2 separate regions of the Homo sapiens genome follow, and region 1 is linked to region 2. The links are contacts of gene promoters, found by promoter capture Hi-C in human tissues and cell types (Jung and others, 2019). All regions are on one chromosome and are shown on one strand. Each heading gives the region's core, a stretch centred on a gene start or on the middle of the fragment in contact. The rest is flanking DNA. Distances are from core to core; before and after follow the strand shown.

What was found. Contacts are between HindIII fragments. The study calls those that stand out against the background at their distance.
Region 1: a fragment that was not itself captured here is called in contact with the fragment with the promoter of CHCHD1 in region 2 in 2 of the 25 tissues and cell types used here (lymphoblastoid cells and stomach).

The regions. Positions count from the first base shown.
Region 1 is chr10:73,899,432-73,905,021 of GRCh38, reverse strand. No RefSeq gene overlaps it. Among named protein-coding and RNA genes, the nearest start is that of PLAU, 8.9 kb to the left of the region's middle. The HindIII fragment of the contact is 7,043 bases long and covers 1-5,590 here.
Region 2 is chr10:73,779,113-73,784,552 of GRCh38, reverse strand. It overlaps CHCHD1 (coiled-coil-helix-coiled-coil-helix domain containing 1), which reads right to left and starts at 2,505. Exons shown (of 3, transcript NM_203298.3): 1 at 2,354-2,505; 2 at 2,112-2,230; 3 at 901-1,479. The coding sequence starts at 2,477. The coding sequence ends at 1,366. LOC107984243 (a long non-coding RNA gene) reads left to right here and starts at 2,600. Exons shown (of 2, transcript XR_001747500.3): 1 at 2,600-2,776; 2 at 2,951-3,924. It also overlaps a transcript of POFUT4 not described here. RefSeq lists a silencer at 431-605 and enhancers at 2,295-2,434, 2,555-2,864. The HindIII fragment of the contact is 10,203 bases long and covers 1-3,803 here.

The DNA.
Region 1 (5,590 bases), core at 1,544-4,043, 120 kb before region 2:
CCCTTGTTAAAGATAGATAATAATAATAATAACCAACTTTTATTTGCATTACATTCATTTTCTTTTTACATCTTAACACCTTTAAGGAAGGTACTATTAATGTCACCATTTTATGGATGAGAAAATGAAGGTTCACTGGGCTTAAGCAATTTCCACAAGGTTAAACTCCAGGGAAATGGAAGCACCAAGACTCACATGCAGACCTGGTTGACTCCAGGTTTGGAGAACTATCTCTGAGGCAGTATCAAATTCAATCAGGCTAGTGGAGGTGCTTGTCCTTCTAACTGGGAATCTTCCTACTTCTAACCCATGGTGACATCCCAGGATAGCTCCAGCTGTCCATCCAAGTCATGTCTGCCTTGATTCCTGCCTGCCCACCTTGAACCAGACTGATTAAAGTGTTCTTCCATTTGTCTAATGTAGCCAGCCACAGTTGTGTCTGCTGGGTCTAGTCAGAGAAGTGATCACTGGGCCTTCTGGCTGTGCTTATATATCTGTGTGGACTCCTGGAACCACCCATAGCCAGTCTTCCTTTTCCACAACTATTCACCCATATTTATATGATGGGGATACTCTAGGGTTCTTCTATGGGGAAATAACAATAGCATCTATTTATTGACAATGGCTTTTATTTAGCAGGCACTGGACTAACAGTTCTGTATGCATTATTTCATTTGATCCTCAGTGAAGGAGATGCAATATCATCCCCACTTTATGGATAAAGAAACTGAGGCACTGAGAGGTTAAATAACTTGTCCAAGATCACACAGCCAATACCTGGCAAATCAAACCCAGGTTTCCTGCTCCCAAGCCTGTGTTGATAATCATCACTAAGATGGCATTGTCTCTTTATCCTTCCCTGAAGGGGGAAAAAAAAAAAGACGAAAAAAAGCCCTGTTGAGTAGATGCCCAGGTATCTGAAATAATAAATATTCAGTAATGTTATCTTTGCCACACTTGTCTGATGATAAGAGTCACTTGGCTTGAAAGTTGAAGAAGTACAGATTTTCAGGTTACCCATTTGTAAATTCTGATTCTTTAGATGGGGCCTAGAAATCTGATTTTTTTTAAAGAGAGACAGCGTGTCAGTCTGTTACCCAGACTAGAGTGCAGTGATGCAATCATACCTTACTGCAGCCTTAAACCCCTTGGCTCAAGCAGTCCTCCTACCTCAGCCTCCCTAGTAGCTGGGACCACAGGTATGCACCATTATGCCCTGTTATTTTTTTAATTTTTGTAGAGATGAGGTCTCTCTATGTTGTCCAGGCTGGTCTTGAACTCCTGGCCTCAAGTGAAGGAATCTGATAGGAGGGAATCTGAAGGAACCTTAATAGGTGACCCAGAGGATTCTCATCACCAAACAAGTGGGGAAAATGTCAGCCAATGCATCATATATCTAGGGAGTGTTGTTTTATTTTTTTCACCCAACTAAACTACAAACTATCTATCTACTGGGGCTTCTACTTCAACCCCATCCTTTGAGATGGGGGCCGGAGGAGAACACAGAGGTGGGGATGGCCCGGGACTACAAGGCAGGTCTTTGGGCAGCATTCCCCAGACAGGGATGAATCAAGGAAAGGGATGTATACCTGAGAGCCTTGTGCCAACCAAACCACCTCGAGGCGACTTTTCTAGAGAATCTGTTCTCAGAAAGTTAATTGCTTCAGCACTTTTGTACTTGTTCTTTTTTTAGATTCCTAGTGATAGTTTTATTTTTTAAATGCCAAACAAATGGCTAAGTGGAGGGACTTTTCCATATAGACTAAAAGAGCTTGGAGGCCAGGTGCAGTGGCTCAACTGTAATCCTAGCACTTTGGGAGGCCAAGGCAGGTGGATTGCATGAGCTCAGGAGTTCAAGACCGCCTGGGCAACATGGTGAAACCCTGTCTCTACTAAAATTTAAAAAAAAAAAAAATCAGCTGGACATGGTAGCATGCGTCTGTGGTCCCAGCTACTCAGGAGGCTGAGGCACAAGAATTGCTTGAACCCGGGAGGCAGAGGTTGCAGTGAGCCAAGAGCATGCCACTGCACTCTAGCCTGGGTGACATAGTGAGACTCTGTCTCCAAAAAAAAAAAAAAAAAAGAGCTTGGAGACCCAGAGGAACCCTCAAAGTCATAGCAGTGAATAAAAAATTGGCTCCCCAAGACCTCAGGAAAATGAAGGGAAATTAAGTAGCGGTTAGAACAAAGCAGAGTTGAGAATAGCTGTACCTACTAGTACCTGTCTATCTGTGATGTTTCCTCTCAGTTCCCGTACTGGCCCTCCTCTGAGCTTCTCAAGGTCAGTTTTTGGTTTTGTTTTTATTTCTAAGGTCTTCTGATTCTACCTGCATAGAATTGGGTTTCCAGAGCATTATGCTTTGCAGGGAGAGTAGACCCAGCAGCTTGTGTGATGACCACAATATTGCATCTTCAGTCAAAGAGGAAGCGACAGTGACACTGTCCCCATGCAGACTTTGCTCCACAGTGCAGCAGTGTCCTGAAGATTCATTCAGTCTGTATCATAGCAGTCAGCTTGTTCTGTTTGTAAAGGGAATTCTACCCTAAGTTCTCAAAAGGACTAAGCTCAACTCAAACTGTTCATTTCATCCAATCAACCAAAAAGGACCTTCAGACACCTAAGGACATGCCTCATGCGGTGCTAGGCACTGAGGGTACACAGGAGAACAGGGCAAGATTCCTGCCCTGAAGACACATGAAATCTGTTAGGAAGACAAAATGAATTTACATGAAACAATGAAAAAGTCTTTAAACAGGATGGCAACTATAAAGAAAAAATAAACAGAAAATAACAAGTGTTGGTGATCATGTGGAGAGAGTGGAATCCTTGTGCACTGTTGGTGGGATTGTAAAATTGTGCAGCTGATATATGGCAGTTCCTCAAAAAATCAGAACTACCAGATGATCCAGCAACTCCACTTCTAGATATAGAAGTAAAAGCAGGGTCTTGATGAGAGATTTGCATACCTTTGTTCATAGCAGCACTGTTCACAATAGCCAAGAGGGGGAAGCAACCCAAATGTCCACGCAGATAAATGGATAAACAAAATGCAGCATATCTACACATGGAATATTAGTCTTAAAAAGGAACGAAATCCCATCACATGCTAAAACTTCAATAAACCCTGAAGACAGCATAGTAAGTGAAATAAGCTGGTCACAAAAAGGCAAATACTGTATAATTCCACTTAAATCTACTTATATTTTATATAATAGTCAAATTCATACAAACAGAAAGTAGAATGGTGGTTGCCAGAGGCTGAGGAAGGGGGAAATGATGAGTTATTGTTCAATGGGTGGGTATACAGCTTCAGTTTTACAAAATGTAAAAGTTCTGGACCAGACGCGGTGGCTCATGCCTGTAATCCCAGCACTTTGGGAGGCAGAGTGAGACCCCGTCTTGAAAAAAAAAGGTTCTGGAGATTGGTTGCACAACAAGCGAAATGTACTAAACACTACTGAACTGCACACATAAAAAATTATAAAGATGGTAAATATTATGTAATTTTTACCAAGATTTTTGTAAAAGTTGTTAATCATTAAGCAGCCTATCAGCCACAAACGCAGCAGAAGTTCAGAGACTGGAGACACTAAAGTTAGAGATTTCCCGGACTAATCTTTTTTTTGGGCGGGGAGGGGAACAGGGTCTCACACTGTCACCCAGGTTGGTGTGCAATGGCGCTGTCTTGGCTCATTGCAACCTCTGCCTCCCAGGATCAAGCAATTCTCCTGCTTAGCCTCTTGAGTAGCTGGGACTACAGGCACCCGCCACCACACCTGGCTAGTTTTTCTATTTTTGGTAGAGAACAAGGGGTTTCACCATGTTGCCCAAGCTGGTCTTGAACTCCTGAGCTCAAGCAATCTGCCCACCTTGGCCTCTCAAAGTGCTGGGATTACAGGCATGAACCACCATGCCTGGCTTCCTGAACAAATCTTTTTTTTTTTTTTTTTTTGAGACAGAGTCTTGCTCTGTCACCCAGGCTGGAGTGCAGTAGCATGATCTCAGCTCACTGCAGCCTCCATCTCCAGGTTCAAGCATTTCTCCTGCCTCAGCCTCCATCTCCAGGTTCAAGCATTTCTCCTGCCTCAGCCTCCTGAGTAGCTAGAATTACAGGCTTACACCACCACATCCAGCCACTTTTTGTATTTTTAGTAGAGACGGGATTCACCATGTTGGCCAGGCTGGTCTCAAACTCCTGACCTCAAGTAATCCACCCACCTCAGCCTCCCAAAGTGCTGGGATTACAGGTGTGAGCCACCGCGCTCACCCATGAACAAATCTTAAAAGATGGGTGAGGTTGGGATTGGCAGAGGGCAGGAAACAAGAATTCCAGGTAAGACCCCTGGAAAGAGACAGGAGCTAGGAATAAACATTTTTACGTGTTGTGGAGAATAAACCTGTATGTATTTAAGTCTCTCTCTGTGTGTGTGTGTGTGTGTGTGTAGATGTATGCACAAGCAGTGAGAAGTCTGGCTTGATTAGGGAAGGTTTACATTGCATGAGAGCTAAGTTCAACTAGAGTGAGGTCAGATTATAAAAGATCTTACTGCAGCTAGAAGTGTGCACTTGATTCCATAGACTCCAGAAAGGTACTGCAGGTTCTTGAGCAAGGGTGTGCTTAAGTTTAGTAAAACTGAAAATCTCCATCAATCTCAGTTGAAATATAGGAAGCAAAAGACAGTGATTTGAAATTTGTCTGTGCTTGGGCTGTGGGGAGCATGAACCCCAGAATCTTGGTGCAGTAATGGAATTGGGAATTGAAATGAGAGGACTCCGAGAGAGGAAGTGAGAGTGCAACGGAAGGCATGAGGACTTGTACAGCTGTCATCTTTCCTATCTTTAGGGGCTTTTGATTTTCCAAACTTGGAAAGTCATGTGCTTTGCTTTAGAAAGAGTCTTCGAGGCCTGGCACGGTGGCTCACGCCTATAATCCCAGCACTGTGGGAGGCCAAGGCAGGCAGATCACCTGAGGTCAGGAGCTCGAGACCAGCCTGACCAACATGGTGAAACCCCATCTCTACTAAAAATACAAAAAATTAGCCGGCCGTGGTGGCAGGTGGCTGTATTCCCAGCTACTTGGGAGGCTGAGACATGAGAATCACTTGAAACGGGGAGGCAGAGGTTGCAGTGAGCTGAGATGGTGCCACTGCACTTCAGCCTGGGAAACAGCAAAACTGTGTCTAAAAAAAAAAAAAAAAAAAAAAAAAGGAAGTCTTAGAAAGTTCCTTTAAAGTGCTGTACCATGAAATCCATATTTGAAGGCCAGTAGTCTCCTGGATTGGAGTGGGAAGAACCGGGGGTAGAAAGCCCCACTGCCCAATGCCAGTAGCACCTGTTGAGTCCAAAGGCCATATCTGCGAGCATGAGCTGAAGCTTCCTCTTGAGGAAAGGAGTGACTGCCGTGGTGAAGGCTGTGGTTTCAGAGTCAGAGGATAGAGCTCCATTCCTGGCTTGGTGGCTGACTCCATCCATGAACCTGGCTGAGTCACTTCCCTCCATATGCCTGTTTTCCCTTCTGTGGAATGCAGCAGAACGTCTTTTCCACCTGCTTTCACAGAAGACAGAATCAGCTAAAAGAAAAAGAAATTT
Region 2 (5,440 bases), core at 1,256-3,755:
CCCGTCTCTACTGAAAATGCAAAGAATTAGCCAGGCGTGGTGGTGGGCGCCTGTAGTCCCAGCTACTCGGGAGGCTGAGGCAGGAGAATGGCGTGAACCCGGGAAACGGAGCTTGCAGTGAGCCAAGATCGTGCCACTGCACTAGCGCGGGCGACAGAGCGAGACTCCATCTCAAAAAAAAAAAAAAAGCTAACTGAATTATGCCTGAAAGGGCAGAGTATACATAAAATGCTATGCAATTTTTCCTAGTATCAGGGGAATCACAAAAGCGAATGCCTTCAGCAACTAGGCAGCTAACTTGAGAGAAGGAAACAGGTAATAAACAAAGTAGACATTTGTTAATTCTGTTTCACCATTTTGTAGAGTCCAGTGGTGAGGTCACTGGAGAATGCAGACAAATGATAATCAGCTCTACCTAATTACTGCCAGGTGGAAATAAGAAAATAAGGCTGCCAGAGCTTTTAATTTTTTTTATTAAAAAAAATAAGTGGCTGGGCACAGTGGCTCATGCCTGTAATCCCAGCACTTTGGGAGGCCAAGGCGGGTGGTCCACTTGAGGTCAGGAGTTCGAGACCAGCCTGGCCAACATGGTGAAACCCCGTCTCTACTGAAAATAGAAAAATTAGCCCGTCATGATGGTGGGTGCCTGTAATCCCAGCTACTCAGAAAGCTGAGGCAGGAGAATCACTTGAACCTTGGAGGCGGAGGTTGCAGTGAGCTGAGATAGTGCCATTGCACTCCAGCCTGGGCAACAGAGCGAGACTGCGTCTTAAACAAATAAATAAATACAGCTAAAATGTGAAATTTTAATGACTTTTTTTCCTATTTTTGAACGTGACCAGCTAATTTTAAAACTTTTTTTAACTGCGTGGATCAAATAAAACATATCTGCAGAACCTCTAGGTCACCAGTTTGTTAACTTTATTATTCAGAGAGCACCTTGCAGGGACTACGCACAAAATAGGCAATCACTAAGTATTTACAGACGAAGGCAACTTCAACTTCCTTATTGCATCCAAAAGCAAGGGCACTAAATGGTGTAAAAGACTTCAAATGCAGGGAAAGACAATACAACGGTATTTGTCCTGCTCCTAGGGCAAATCAGGAAGGAAAGAATTTCCAGGGTCTAGGGGAGGCTCAAGAATGAAGAGAGTACCTAATTCACAACAAAAGGCCAAGTTCTGTTCAGAGGATTTTATTTCAAGATAAATCATAACTTCTACCCATACTATGATTCCAAAGGGTGAAAAAAGTGTTTTGCCTCTTCTACCCTCCAAAGAGGGCATGGCAATGCCAATGTCTCTAAAATGCCTCTGCATAGTTGTCAGAAGCTATATTTCAGTCATTGAAAATACTTGTCCATTTTCAGCTGAGGTAAGGTTTGTTAGGAAACCTCTGTAACAACTTATTCAATTTATTTGGAAGTAAACTCCCAGACTCTCCCAGGGTTTCCTGTATTGATCTCATCTTTCGGGCTTCCTGAAAACACAAAACAAATACAAGAATGACAGCTCTACAGTTTGTCTAGTCCAGACTTTTAAGATCTGACCCAAAAAACCAATCAATCAATCAAGTTTGTCCTGATGTAGGCCCATAGTTCTCACAATGCCCTAAAGCACATGAAGATGTTAACCAGCCTGGAGAGATCTATGTCAGCCTCTTTTCAACAAAAGGGCGTTGGGACCTACAAATGAGACTATGTTCAGAAGCTACTATCTCAGCTAACAATTAAGCCTAGACAGGAAACCAAACTATTGTCATTATTTAGTTTTAGTCTCTTTAGTTCTATTTCACACAATAATGTCTACTTGAGCAGCAATTTACATTTTTCAAAATGATTTTCCCATTCATTACTTCATCTGACACTCACAACATTCTTTAAGGTGGTATTGGTTAGCCTCATTTTACGTACAGTAACTCGAAAGTTCAGAGCAATGAATAAATCCGTCAAGATCACACAGCCTTCAAAACTGTAACCTTTCCCACTTTGGCGTGAATAATATACCTCCCAAATGAATGAAAGGGCCTTTCCTAGCAAAAGGCAGGGAGAATCATTACTTCTATCTCCCCCATTCTTTTCCTGAGAAAGCACCCCAGGAGCCATCGGTCACCTGAGCCCTCGCGGCACAATCGAGGAAGCCCTGGATCTCTTTTCTGCACGCATCGTCGCGGAATTCATTCTGCTTCCAGCAAGCCATCATCACCGACATCTCCGTGATGCAAGTCGCCTCTGGAGGGGCAGATCCGGGGGACCTTCAGTCACAAGAAGACCCACCTTCCTGCCCTCCTACCCACCCGCCCCTGCTCATGCTCCGGCTTCCGCTCCGGGGCCGTCCTGACTCCGACTGCTCACCGCCCTTCTCCCGGCGCCGCTCCCCGACGCGGTTAGCTAGAATGAGAGGTTTATTGGGCTTCAGCACAGGCTTCCGCGGGTTCCCAAACCGCGCCAGACGACCCCGCAGGCTGGGTGTCGCCATAGCGCACCAAGCTCCCGGCAGGCTTTGCGGTTCCGTGCGTGACCTCGCGTGACCCCTACGGGCTGGACGAATCGGCGCGGAGCTCGGGGAAGGCTCGTTGGCTTGCTGGCAGCCACCTCTTTCTTTTACTTGGCCGGGGCTGCGGCGACGCTGGGTTCGAACAGCGGCGGGTTCATACTTGTCAGCAGATTAGGAGGAGACTCTGGGTTCGTACGCCGACTGAGGCTTCTCCTTGATGGGCTCCGGGCCCCGAAGTCTGGGGGCAGTACGGGGCCGGGGACATGCAGGAAAGGGCCCTGGTAAGTGGACACTGTTCTGGTGGTAGCCGGCTTGGTCTAGGGGCGATTGGCATAGGGCGGGGTTGGGGGGGGGGGTGGCGAATCAAAATTTGAGACTTTAAGATGTTGGGTTGGGAAAGATTCGTGTTTTACTTTAATAAACCTGAAAGAACTGTCGTTTTTCACTGCCTATAGGACCACTACAAAGCCGCAAAGAAAAATTAGACTTGTTTCATTTTATAACAACAACAACTGCTACTACTGCTACTAGTTAGATACCGTTTGCTCATTTATAACAATCTCAGTTGGTAGGATGAAGCTTAAACACTTGGCATTCATCGTCTTTTTCAGTCCTCTCGCCAGTCTTACAGACTTGGACCTTCAGTTGTGATGCTTAATCAGAATTTTTTTTGAGATAGGGTCTCTCTTGGTTGCCCAGACTGGAGTGCAAGTGGCACGTTCATAGCTCACTGCAGCTTTAAACTCCTGAACTCAAACGATCCTCCCGCCTCTGCCTCCTGAGTAGCTGAGAACACAGGTGCAAGACACCACGCCCAGCTAATTATTTTTTGTAGAGACGGGGTTTTGTCATGTTGCCCGGGCTGGTCTCGAACTCCTGGGTTCAAGCGATCTTCCTGCCTCGCCCTCCCAAAGTGCTTTACATGACTGAGCCTCCGCGCCCAGCCAGACTTGTTTCTCAAGTGACTTCTTCTGGCCATTTTCACAACTCATTCCAAAGATGTGCAGCATATTCTCAAAGCATTTCCAAATAAGCTCCAAGAAATGTTTTTGGTAATGGAAGCAGAAAACAAGCCTGTAGCTCATGACTACTTTGGAGGAAGAACATTTGGATTTGTAAATTTAGTGTGTTAAAAAAATCACTTATCACAGATGTTTGGAATCTTCCCACTGATTTCTGCATGGCTGCTTATTTTTCTTCCCTTAAGTCTCAGTTCATGTCACAGAGGGCTTCCCTGACCTCTCACACCTCACCACCATCAACCTGTTTTCTCCATAGCACCTATCACAGTCTGAATTGTCTTATTATGGCCTTACCTATCCCTAACACCCATTTAAAAATGTAAGCATGAAAGAAGGAACGTTGTCTATCTTGTTCATTGCTGAATCCCCAGTGCCTAGAATAGTACCAATAAATACTTGTTAAATGAGCAAATGTTTTATTTATTTATTTATTTTTGGATTTGGGGTCTTGTTCTGTCACCCAGGTTGGAGTGCAGTGGAATATTAGCTCACTGCAGCCTTGGCCTCACTCCAGTGATCCTCCTGCCTCAGCTGCTGGAGTAGCTGCGACCACAGGCTCACACCACCAAACCCGGCTGGCTTGGTTTTATTTTTTGTAGAGATGGGGTCTCAGTATGTTGCGCAGACTACTCTTGAACTCCTGGGCTCACGTGAGCTTCCCTCCTTGGCCTCCCAAAGTGCAGGGATTACAGGCATGAGCCACCACACCCAACCTGAAACTTTTTTACAAATCTCCAACTTTATTACACCCACCCCCAAAAAAATAATGAAGCAGAAGACATTGTTTAACAAGAAGCAGTTTATTACACAAAACGAAACCTGAGATAATAGAAAATAACACTTGCAGTAATAAAGGAAGCAGCCTTGCACTCCACCTCCACACTCCAGAGTATAATTAAAAGACTCCTATCAGACATTTCTATCACCAATAATGCCAACCTCTGTATACAGCAGCAGGCTGGGCCCCAAATCAGAAGATTCATGTTGCTTGCTTTCTCTATAGGGAAAGTGAAGCTTTCGGTAAGTATCATGTGGCTATTCCTGGTTCTACTTTCCCTTGTGGAAATGTAATACCTGGTTTACACTGCTCTTTTGTGAGTACGTATATGGTGATAGGAATAAAGGAGAAAGTCTGGAAAGCACCAAGCACAAAGCAGGCCTGAGGCTCCAGCAACAGTCATTCAGAAACAACTGCCCACTTTATACGTAAAAGTATGAAAGGAATGCCAATGTGAGCCCATGTCATTAGGAGAGGTAAGGATAATCTACACCTTGCTTAACCATCACTTAACCTTTTTATTGCACATAATGAAATTTAAGCCCTAACCTAGGTCTGTACTTGTGTAATAATTATGCACTCTAAATTAGCATCTGCATTTAGATAGATTGCAAGCTTAGAAATCAGTCCTGCATTTGACCTCTTTTGTCAGTGCCTACTATATCAAATTTTAACAGATTTTTTTTTTTTTTTTGAAATGGAGTTTTGCTCTTGTTGTCCAGGCTGGAGTGCAATGGCGTGATCTTGGTTCACCACCACCTCCGCCTCCTGGGTTCAAGCGATTCTTCTGCCTCAGCCTCCTGAGTAGCTGGGATTATAGTCATGCGCCACCACGCCCAGCTAATTTTGTATTTTTAGTAGAGATGAGGTTTCTCCATGTTGGTCAGGCTGGTCTTGAACTCCCGACTTCAGGTGGTCTGCCTGCCTTGGCCTCCCAGAGTGCTGGGATTACAGGCGTGAGCCAGCTCACCCAGCCCAACAGATTTTTTTTTTTTTTTTAGACAGAGGTCTCACTGTGTTGCCCAGTTGGCACTCATAGGCGCACTCACAGCATACTACAGCCTCAAACTCTTGGGCTCAAGCGATCTTCCTGCCTTAGCCTTCTGAGTAGCTGGGACTGCAGACCCATGCCATCACATCTGGCT